3 separate regions of the Homo sapiens genome follow, and regions 1 and 2 are each linked to region 3. The links are contacts of gene promoters, found by promoter capture Hi-C in blood cells and fetal thymus (Javierre and others, 2016). All regions are on one chromosome and are shown on one strand. The core of a region is centred on a gene start or on the middle of the fragment in contact, and the rest is flanking DNA. Distances in the headings are between cores, read along the strand shown. Region 1 overlaps SMARCA5 (SNF2 related chromatin remodeling ATPase 5). Region 2 holds the start of SMARCA5 (SNF2 related chromatin remodeling ATPase 5). Region 3 holds the start of ZNF330 (zinc finger protein 330).

Region 1 (2,700 bases), core at 96-2,595, 2.3 Mb before region 3:
CAGAGTAAGCATTCAGTATTTCTTGCTTAAAGGAACAACTGTTAAATGAGGGAGAAATGCTACAGAATGTTTGGTATAAATCTAAACTAGGAGAAAAATGTAGACACATAATTAGCCTACAAAAAATTCTGAAGATATAGACCTAAATATTAACAAGAAAAACACTGGGTAGAATTATTTTTTTCTTCTAATCTCTGGGTATTTTTCAATTTATCTCTATATTACCAAGTATTACTTATGAAGTTAAGAAATTTTTCCCTTTATTACCAGCCAATTCTGCTGTTTAAAATAAAATGAATCAGGTTACCATCCCAAATTACTATTCATCCCATACAAGAATATATTTCACTGTAAACATATACCACAAACTTCATTACAAAAACTTTAAAAATATTTCAGAGCTTACCAACTGAAAAACTGGCATTAAATTTTACATAATGATGAAAATATTCAGATGTGAATAAGCAAAAATGACTACTGTTTTAAGCAAAATTATAAGACATTACAGTAACACTTAAAATTCCAAGTTTCCAGTAAAATAAAGCTTTCATGTAACCCAAACCTATTTCTAAATTACCTTTTGTTTTTCTCTATAGTCTTCTCCTTCGAAGTTATAAACACTTGACTCTGTATCCATTGTAAAGTTTCTAAGTGAACTTTCGCCCATCTTGGAGAGCTTTTCATTCATCTCTGCAGTCTAGAGAACAAAACAATCAGCTTCTTAGATTCACAGCAAAGAAAGCATGAAAACTGCAGTCAAAATAAATTAACTTCACGTACACAAAAGCTTCTCTTTAAGGAAATAAAATTATTTATCATCAATGTAACAAATATTTCCTGTTTCTGGTCTAAAACATTCTATATTAAAAGCATTATTTAATCTACATCTCACCTTCTTTGCACCTCTTTCCAAAATACCATCGATATCTTCATCAGTGATCTCACTTTCCTTTGAAGCAAACACATGTGTTGCTCCATGTCTAATCATTTGAAGCATTTCATCTTTCCCAATTTTGTTCAGATTCTGATCCACAAGCCTCCCTGAAAAAAGATTGTGTTGTATAATGTTAACTGAACAGACTTTATTTTACTGGAAACTTGAAACTTTAAATGTAAGGTTTAATGCTTTATAATTTTATCTCAAATGTCAATCATTTCTGTTTACTGTTTATTCACATCTAATAATTTTGATTTTTGCACTAAATTTAATGCCAAATTTTCAGTTGGTAAGCTACAAAACATTCCTAAACCTTATGTATTATATAATGAAACCTGCTGTATACTGTGCCAACGAAATATAATCTTTTGTGAAAGCTGCATATGAAAAATTTTCAAAAACCTACAAGTTTCAACAGATGGAAGCATTATACACACAAGTTTCTGATGAGCAGAAAGGTGTTATTAACTAATACTCCCCAAATCAGCTTTTCTCCTTAGAAAAGTAAAGTAAAAAATCCTTCACCTAGGCCAAACTTTACACAGAACTGAAATATGTAACATCAGTTTCTTTTTAAAGAAAACTTCCAGAAGAACTGAAACTCCTAAAAACTTATTTTATTCGTTTATTTTTTTGAGATGGAGTCTTGCTCTGTTGCTTAGGCTGGAGTGCAATGACAGGACCATAGTCACTGCAGCCTTCAACTCCCTGCTCAAGCCATTCTCCTGTCTCAGCTTCCCAAGTAGCTAGGACTAAAGGCATGCACTACCACACCTGGTGAGAAAATGTATCTGGATCATCGAAGAAACTCACCATTAATAAATTAATAAATATTTTCAGTTGGCAGGAGTTTGGACAACCTTGTAATTTTTCAAAAATACAGGTATAAAAAAACAAACAAAAACCCAGAAAGACTTGTTTTCACCCTCCTCAAGGGTCACTCACATACACCTAAACAAAGCTTTGATTTTTATATGCCAACCAACTTGTAAGTAAGTGGAAAAAGATCCAAGTTTTCAACAACTTCTTTAAATACTTGTATCATGGTTTGGGACCCATAATAGGATATACAGCCAAACATCCATGACTTTGTAAGTGAGGAGATATCCACAAGGTATGTTTCCTTGGATTGGATGCTACCATTGCTACCAAAATGTTCTTATGCTTATACAAACTACTTCCAAGTTGGGCAGGAAGGTTCCGGAACCTTCAGATGTAAAGTGCTTGTGTACTCTCGTTTTTAATTATGTCCCTCAAATAAAAAACAGTAACACAAAGGTATGCACTTAAGGCTTGCTGTTTGACTAACATGTCTACAAACGGCACAAGAAAGCTATTAGCCTGAAGGTTTGCTCCAAAAATTGCCACAGTAAATATGAAGTAAAAAAACCTCAAGATTTCTAAATTAATTATGAATCAATTAAGGTCTTTTTTATCTTTAAAAAAAGTGTTTTGGACAGGCGTGGTGGCTCATACCTGTAATCCAGCACTTTGGGAGGCTGAGGTGGGTGGATCGCCTGAGGTCAGGAGTTCAAGACCAGCCTGGCCAACAAAGTGAAACCCTGTCTCTACTAAAAATACAAAAAAATTAGCCAGGTGTGGTGGCGGGCATCTGTAAATCCAGCTACTCAGGAGGCTGAGGCAGCAGAATTGCTTGAACCCAGGAAGCGGAGGTTGCAGTGAGCCGAGATCGTGCCATTGCACTCCAGCCTGAGTAACAAGAACAAAACTCCATCTCAAAAAAAAAAAAAGTGTTTCATGGA
Region 2 (2,700 bases), core at 94-2,593, 2.3 Mb before region 3:
AATAAAAATTGGAAGGAGCAATTACTTTGTTCCCAGATGCAAAGCCTGGAAGCATATCCAATTTACCCGCCTGGCAGCTTCCCCCATCTTTCCAGCCCCCTCAGTACTGTCAGCATCCCCTGCCCAACCCAAACCCATAAGTCTCGGCAGCGAGTGGTACTAATTTTTTTTTTTCTTAAGGCCAGAGGCCAAAAAGAGAAAAGTGCCGGACTGAGAGCCAACCAACTGCGCCTGGTTCTCTAATTCATTCCTACACTTATTCATCCCCCCTAAATTAGACGGGGGATCCGAGACAGCTGCTGCTGCCTTGGTTGCTTCCCTTCCAGTGGAATAGTGCCTGGGAGGGGCCTTCTCTCCCTTCACAGAAGCAGCTGCGCCCCGCTTATCCCCACTGCGCACTCGGCCATCCAGCTCTCGCCATTGTTTCTGCCCACAACAGATACCGCCCCTGCAAGGACCGGGAAGAAGAAAAGGAGGCCCAAGTCCTCGGACGCGCTGCTTTTAAATGCCTCCTTCACCCCGCCCGTGCATCCCGCTCCTAAGGGGTCATCTCCTCGCCCTTCCCCGAAGTTTGGTGGAAACTAAAAACCACATTCAGAGGTAGGAGAGGGAATTATGGGAGTCTAGTGGGAAAAAAACGATGGGTCCCCCGGGCCACGGTAACCAAGAACATCTGTTCACTGAGAGCGTTCAAATATTTGTCAGGATTCACGAAAGAGACAAATAATTTAAATGTGAGGAGCCAGAAATCCATTTTGCTTAGCTCGAATAGGGTAAGAACAAGGGAGCAAGAGTGAGAGCATCATTTCGTATCCACAGGGTGTGAAGCTGAGTCTGGTGCAGAGAGAGAAACCCGGCTCTGCGTCCGATCGCCACGATCCGGCGAGGGAGCCAGCTCCTCCTCCCCGCTGCACCCGCTCCCCATGCCGCAAGTCGCCCTCACCTCCATCTCGGCGTCTGCGGGACCAGCGCTGGCCGCAGACGCAACCGCCTGCGCCGCGACGCCTTCGGGGCCGCCTTTGTTGCTGCTGTTGCTCCCGCCGCTGGCGATCGAGGCTGCGGGCTTGGAAGGCGCGCTCTCGGGAGGCGGGGGTGGCGGAGGCTCGGCCGCGGACGACATGATGTTCCGTCTGCGTCACCCGCTGCTGCCAGAGGCCCGAGTCCGGCGGGGATGGACGGGGAGGCCTAGGCCTGGATGCTACGTCGCAATAAACTGGTGGAGGAGCGAGACTCCCACCCGAGCGCTCCCCTGCGCCGCGCCTCCGCGACGGGCCTGAGCCGGGCCCAGGAGCTGCACACTCCCAAACGTTCTGCTCTTCCGCGGGGCTCTAGGTTCCACCGGCGCTTACCTCACGGCGGGAATCACGTCGACGAGGGTGGGCGGGGCCAGACGGGTCACTGAGGTCAAGGAAGGCCGGCTGATTTAGAGAAGGGCGGAGGGTTGGGGGAAGGGAAAAGGAAAACGAAAGAGAGACTGAGGCTGGGAAAACGCTTCGCCGCCTCCTCCTCTTCCTCTGGAAGATAACATCTATCTCGCCAGCATCCAGGACGACGACCTACGCCACCGACTTTCAACACTCGCGAGATTCCTTATTGGCTCACTGACTGGGTCCTGAGCGCGCATGCGCATACTGCCCTCCTCACCCTTGGCCCGCCCTCTTCCAGATCTCTAGCCGGCTCGGGAGAGAAGAGTGGGCGGGACCTCCAGGGAGCGCTCGGAGGTGTAGGTTTGTGCGCCTGCTGCTTGGCAGGACGCGAGCTCAGTGTTTTAGGCTTTCGTAACGGCTCACGGTTCTCGCTGTGTCTTCTGTGCCTGACAGGGGTTGGCGGCACTACCGGAAAACTTGTCTGGGTTTTGCGCTGCCCATTCAAACTTGGAAGTCTTGTGTCTGGCCCCAAAACTTCTGCCGTATCCGCTTAGAGGCGTGACGCCACAGCCTTGACGACGTTATGGTTACCCCAAGTGAAGTCTCACGGTTTTTTGTTGTTAGAAAAAAAAAAAAAGTCCGTTAGTGTGATTTTTTTCTTTTTTCTTTTTTTTTTTTTTTGCCTTCTCATGTTAGCTGCGTCGGTTATTTCTAAATACCCTCCTTAGGCACAGAGTTAAATGATATTTCTTCTGAATTTATATGCCAAAGTTAAGCAAATAACGTGCACACTACCATGGAAGTGAGAAACACGAATAATCAATATATGGGGAAGATAGGTGGTGCGATGTAATCTTTTCCCCAAGCATCAAACATGAAAATTAAAACGTACATTCTCCTTAAGTGTTAACAAATATTCAGCACTGATTTTGTATACTGCCTTAGGCAGCCTTCAATGCAGCTTAAGGGCCTTGTGCATTCATCGCCTACAAAATTTAAATACATTGTAGTCTGTTTGATAACGAATCTGCATACTACAGTAGATTACCTGCCCAGTACAGGGTCTTTTTTATCTTTTTTTATTCCTCATATTCAGTATTCTCTAAATGTTTGTTGAGTAAAGGAGACACATTTTTCGAGAGTTGAGGTTTGAGCTAACTGGTTATGTTGAATTCCAAACAGAAGGGATCCCCTTTGAATATATAGCCTGCAAATTTTTTAACTAATGGAATGATAATTCTTAAATGGACATCTGGAAAAATGTCCCCACTCCACTAGAAATGCTAGTTCTTAGACTATAAGGAAATGTCTAAGGATATATGCAAAGATGAAT
Region 3 (2,700 bases), core at 90-2,589:
CACATTCTAAGCCTTATGAAACGTTAAGCACATATTATTCCAAATGAAGCGGGTGATCCTTAACGCATTTATTGGCACTAACGATTCTAAAAATGTAAACGTCAAAAAAATTTACCCTAAAAGACAAACTAGTCTTCTTTTCCCACTAAGAAAAAAGTTTCTCCAATGATAAAGTATTCTGCACCTCATTAAAACAAATGAATCATGTATCATTAGCAAAAACAAAAAAATCATTAATAAGAGCATTATTTAGCCAGTTTATATCACTTTTTTGAGCTATATATTCAGATGACCTGACGCTGCCAACACCTTAAGTATAACAAGTTTAATTTTTCCTATGTAATATGTAAACAAAACATCTAACAGTCAACAAATAACACTATTTATTAACTACAAAGTCAAAACATTCTGAAGATATTTAAGGTATTAGTTGCTCTGACTTTAACAAATGCTCTTCCCTCTACACGCAGTGAGCATGTAATTTTAACGGGGTTCAAATTTACGTTTAAGAGTATGTTTAATTTTCATCATTTAGTTGAAATACAAGATTTTTCTAAACTGAAGTTTTCTGAACTGAATGCTCAATTAAAAAAAAAACAAAACAGGTGGTAAGCAGTACGGTAGCAACTGAAAAATAGCCAGATTTAATAGGTGGTTATTTCGGTAACGTAACGCCCAGACCACTAAGGCACCATTCCAATATGTAAAATGACAAAATCTAGAGGGCGTGCTGCCCTGGCCAAAGAACCTCAGAAAATAATCACGAGGTGATCATGCGGATTAACTTTCTGCGTCCTCAGAGATATCCTCTGAATCCTCTGATAAAGTTAAATCTCATTTTTTTTTCCCTCCAGTTTGTTCTGCACGCTCAAAAGAGTGAATCTTCTTCTCAGCCTTATACGGGTTCAAGCCCTTTTCCGGTAACACTCCAACTTCTTGCATGCACTGCGTGTGTCACCAAATGAGGAAACAGGCACGGGGCACTGCGGCTTTAGGAGTCCAGCCTGGAGCTGGAGGACCCAGTGGGGCGGAGGGGCGTCCAGGGGAGAAGCGGCGGAGGTGCCAGGCGGCTCGGGGACCCGCAACGGGGACCCGCAACCGTCACCCGCCCGCGGGACACCCTACCTCGTGCGCGCTCCGGGCAAACCTCGCTCACTTTCGCCGGGAGACCGGACTCACTCAGGGGGCCGAGGGACAGGGAATGGCGTGAGGCCCACCCGCGACAGCAGTAAATCCAACTCGTGGACCAGGACTCCGGGAAAGAAGGTACTAACAGCCAGGGAGGCTGACAGCCGATTCCGGACACTAGGAGACGGACCGGACGTCCTTTTACGACAGCAGCGCCTTACGGCTGACGTCATAGGACGGGAGCCGCCCACCTCTGTTCGCTCCGCCCCTTCCCCGCCCACTCCTGCGGGGGCCAATGCCCCATTCCTAAGCAGAGGATCTGCAGAAAAGGAAGGGAATGCGAGGGAAAATAGGGAAGCAGAAGGAGGGAAAGCAGGGGAAGGCCCCCTCAGTTTTACTTTTTTAGAAAAAGGAGAAATCTAAAAGGAAGAGGAAAATGAACTCACAGACTTGGTACTGGATCAATTGACTCAAACAGCAAATTCATGTTGAATTCTGTTGGAAACCTTTCCCCACCTCTACATCTTGCGTGCCTCACATCCCACCTTTTCTTGGTTGCTGCGCAAACTGTGCCTTCAGTTGCCTGATGAACTTCCGTACCAGCCTCCCCTGTCTCTTATTTCTGTTATGCCCTCTGGATTCCATTCCTTTGTGAACAAATCATCCCACATTCTCTACCTCTAATGTGTAATCTGCCTGCTTTTAACTGAAACCTGATGATCCTCCCCCTGCATCAGAATCTCCTTCCGATCAAGCACCTCCACCTTTGCATAGCCGACCAAGCTGGGTTTCCTAATCTCTTTCGGAGCTCTGCCGCACTTAGGATTCAGTACCAGGCCTATTCCTGTGCTTTTCCTGCCCTCCCCCTGCAGGAGATAAAAGCCTCTTTATTTGGACCAAAGAGGCCTTCTGGAATTTACTCTTAGATTTTGATAGCCAATTAACCATCTCAGCCTTTTGCTATTTTCAAAGAATCAATTTTACTTAGCAATAACAGTCAATGCCACTGTCATTAAGGTTACTATTTCCCTCATAGTTCTCAAATGCCTGATACATTTTACCTACTCGTATATAAATTAGAATACCACCCCAGTTACGTTAGAATACCACCCCAGTTTCATTACTGATGAAAGTTGTAACTATTGCACTGTTACCTTGTGCCGAGGTCTGTGTGTCCTACACCTACCACCGAGGGGGTCCTCATTGATAGTCACATGGCCTGTGATTCGAATCATAAATCCCATCTTAGCCTAACTTGAACCACTCCTGACACCAACTGTTTTAGGTTGGCTTCCCCAGGAAGCATACTCTGAGTCAGAGAAGAGTATAATGAGTATGTTAGGGAATGCTTTGGGGAACAACATCTGCAGGAGAAATGGAAGCAGGATTGAGCAGAGGGAAGAGTTGACCTGCAGTGACGTCTCAGTGAAGGCCTCGTTTTGAATCTGGGATATCCCTTCAGAGTTGTCTTGAGTTAGGGGAACTGGGCTGGACCTTTATACACCTATGACATTTAGTCACTGGATGAACGCTGCCAAAGGAGAAGAGTGCAACCTTGGGTTAAAGGACTCC

What was found. Contacts are between HindIII fragments. The CHiCAGO score rates a contact against its expected background, and 5 or more counts as called.
Region 1: a contact is called between a fragment that was not itself captured here and the fragment with the promoter of ZNF330 in region 3, in 1 of 17 cell types (naive CD4 T cells). The highest score is 5.2, in naive CD4 T cells.
Region 2: the fragment with the promoter of SMARCA5 here is called in contact with the fragment with the promoter of ZNF330 in region 3 in 3 of 17 cell types (total CD4 T cells, monocytes and naive CD4 T cells); the score reaches 7.2 in total CD4 T cells.

Annotation. Positions count from the first base shown.
Region 1 is chr4:143,541,850-143,544,549 of GRCh38, reverse strand. It overlaps SMARCA5 (SNF2 related chromatin remodeling ATPase 5), which reads right to left. Exons shown (of 24, transcript NM_003601.4): 15 at 893-1,041; 16 at 578-697. Among named protein-coding and RNA genes, the nearest start is that of SMARCA5-AS1, 28 kb to the right of the region's middle. The HindIII fragment of the contact is 1,111 bases long and covers 790-1,900 here.
Region 2 is chr4:143,512,345-143,515,044 of GRCh38, reverse strand. It overlaps SMARCA5 (SNF2 related chromatin remodeling ATPase 5), which reads right to left and starts at 1,343. Exons shown (of 24, transcript NM_003601.4): 1 at 944-1,343. The coding sequence starts at 1,120. SMARCA5-AS1 (SMARCA5 antisense RNA 1) reads left to right here and starts at 208. Exons shown (of 2, transcript NR_104027.1): 1 at 208-600; 2 at 820-1,573. RefSeq lists enhancers at 723-842, 903-962, 1,253-1,622, 1,653-1,722, 1,753-1,842 and 1 more. The HindIII fragment of the contact is 18,533 bases long and covers 1-2,700 here.
Region 3 is chr4:141,219,534-141,222,233 of GRCh38, reverse strand. It overlaps ZNF330 (zinc finger protein 330), which reads right to left and starts at 1,339. Exons shown (of 10, transcript NM_014487.6): 1 at 1,126-1,339. RefSeq lists enhancers at 543-1,047, 1,048-1,554. The HindIII fragment of the contact is 10,650 bases long and covers 1-2,700 here.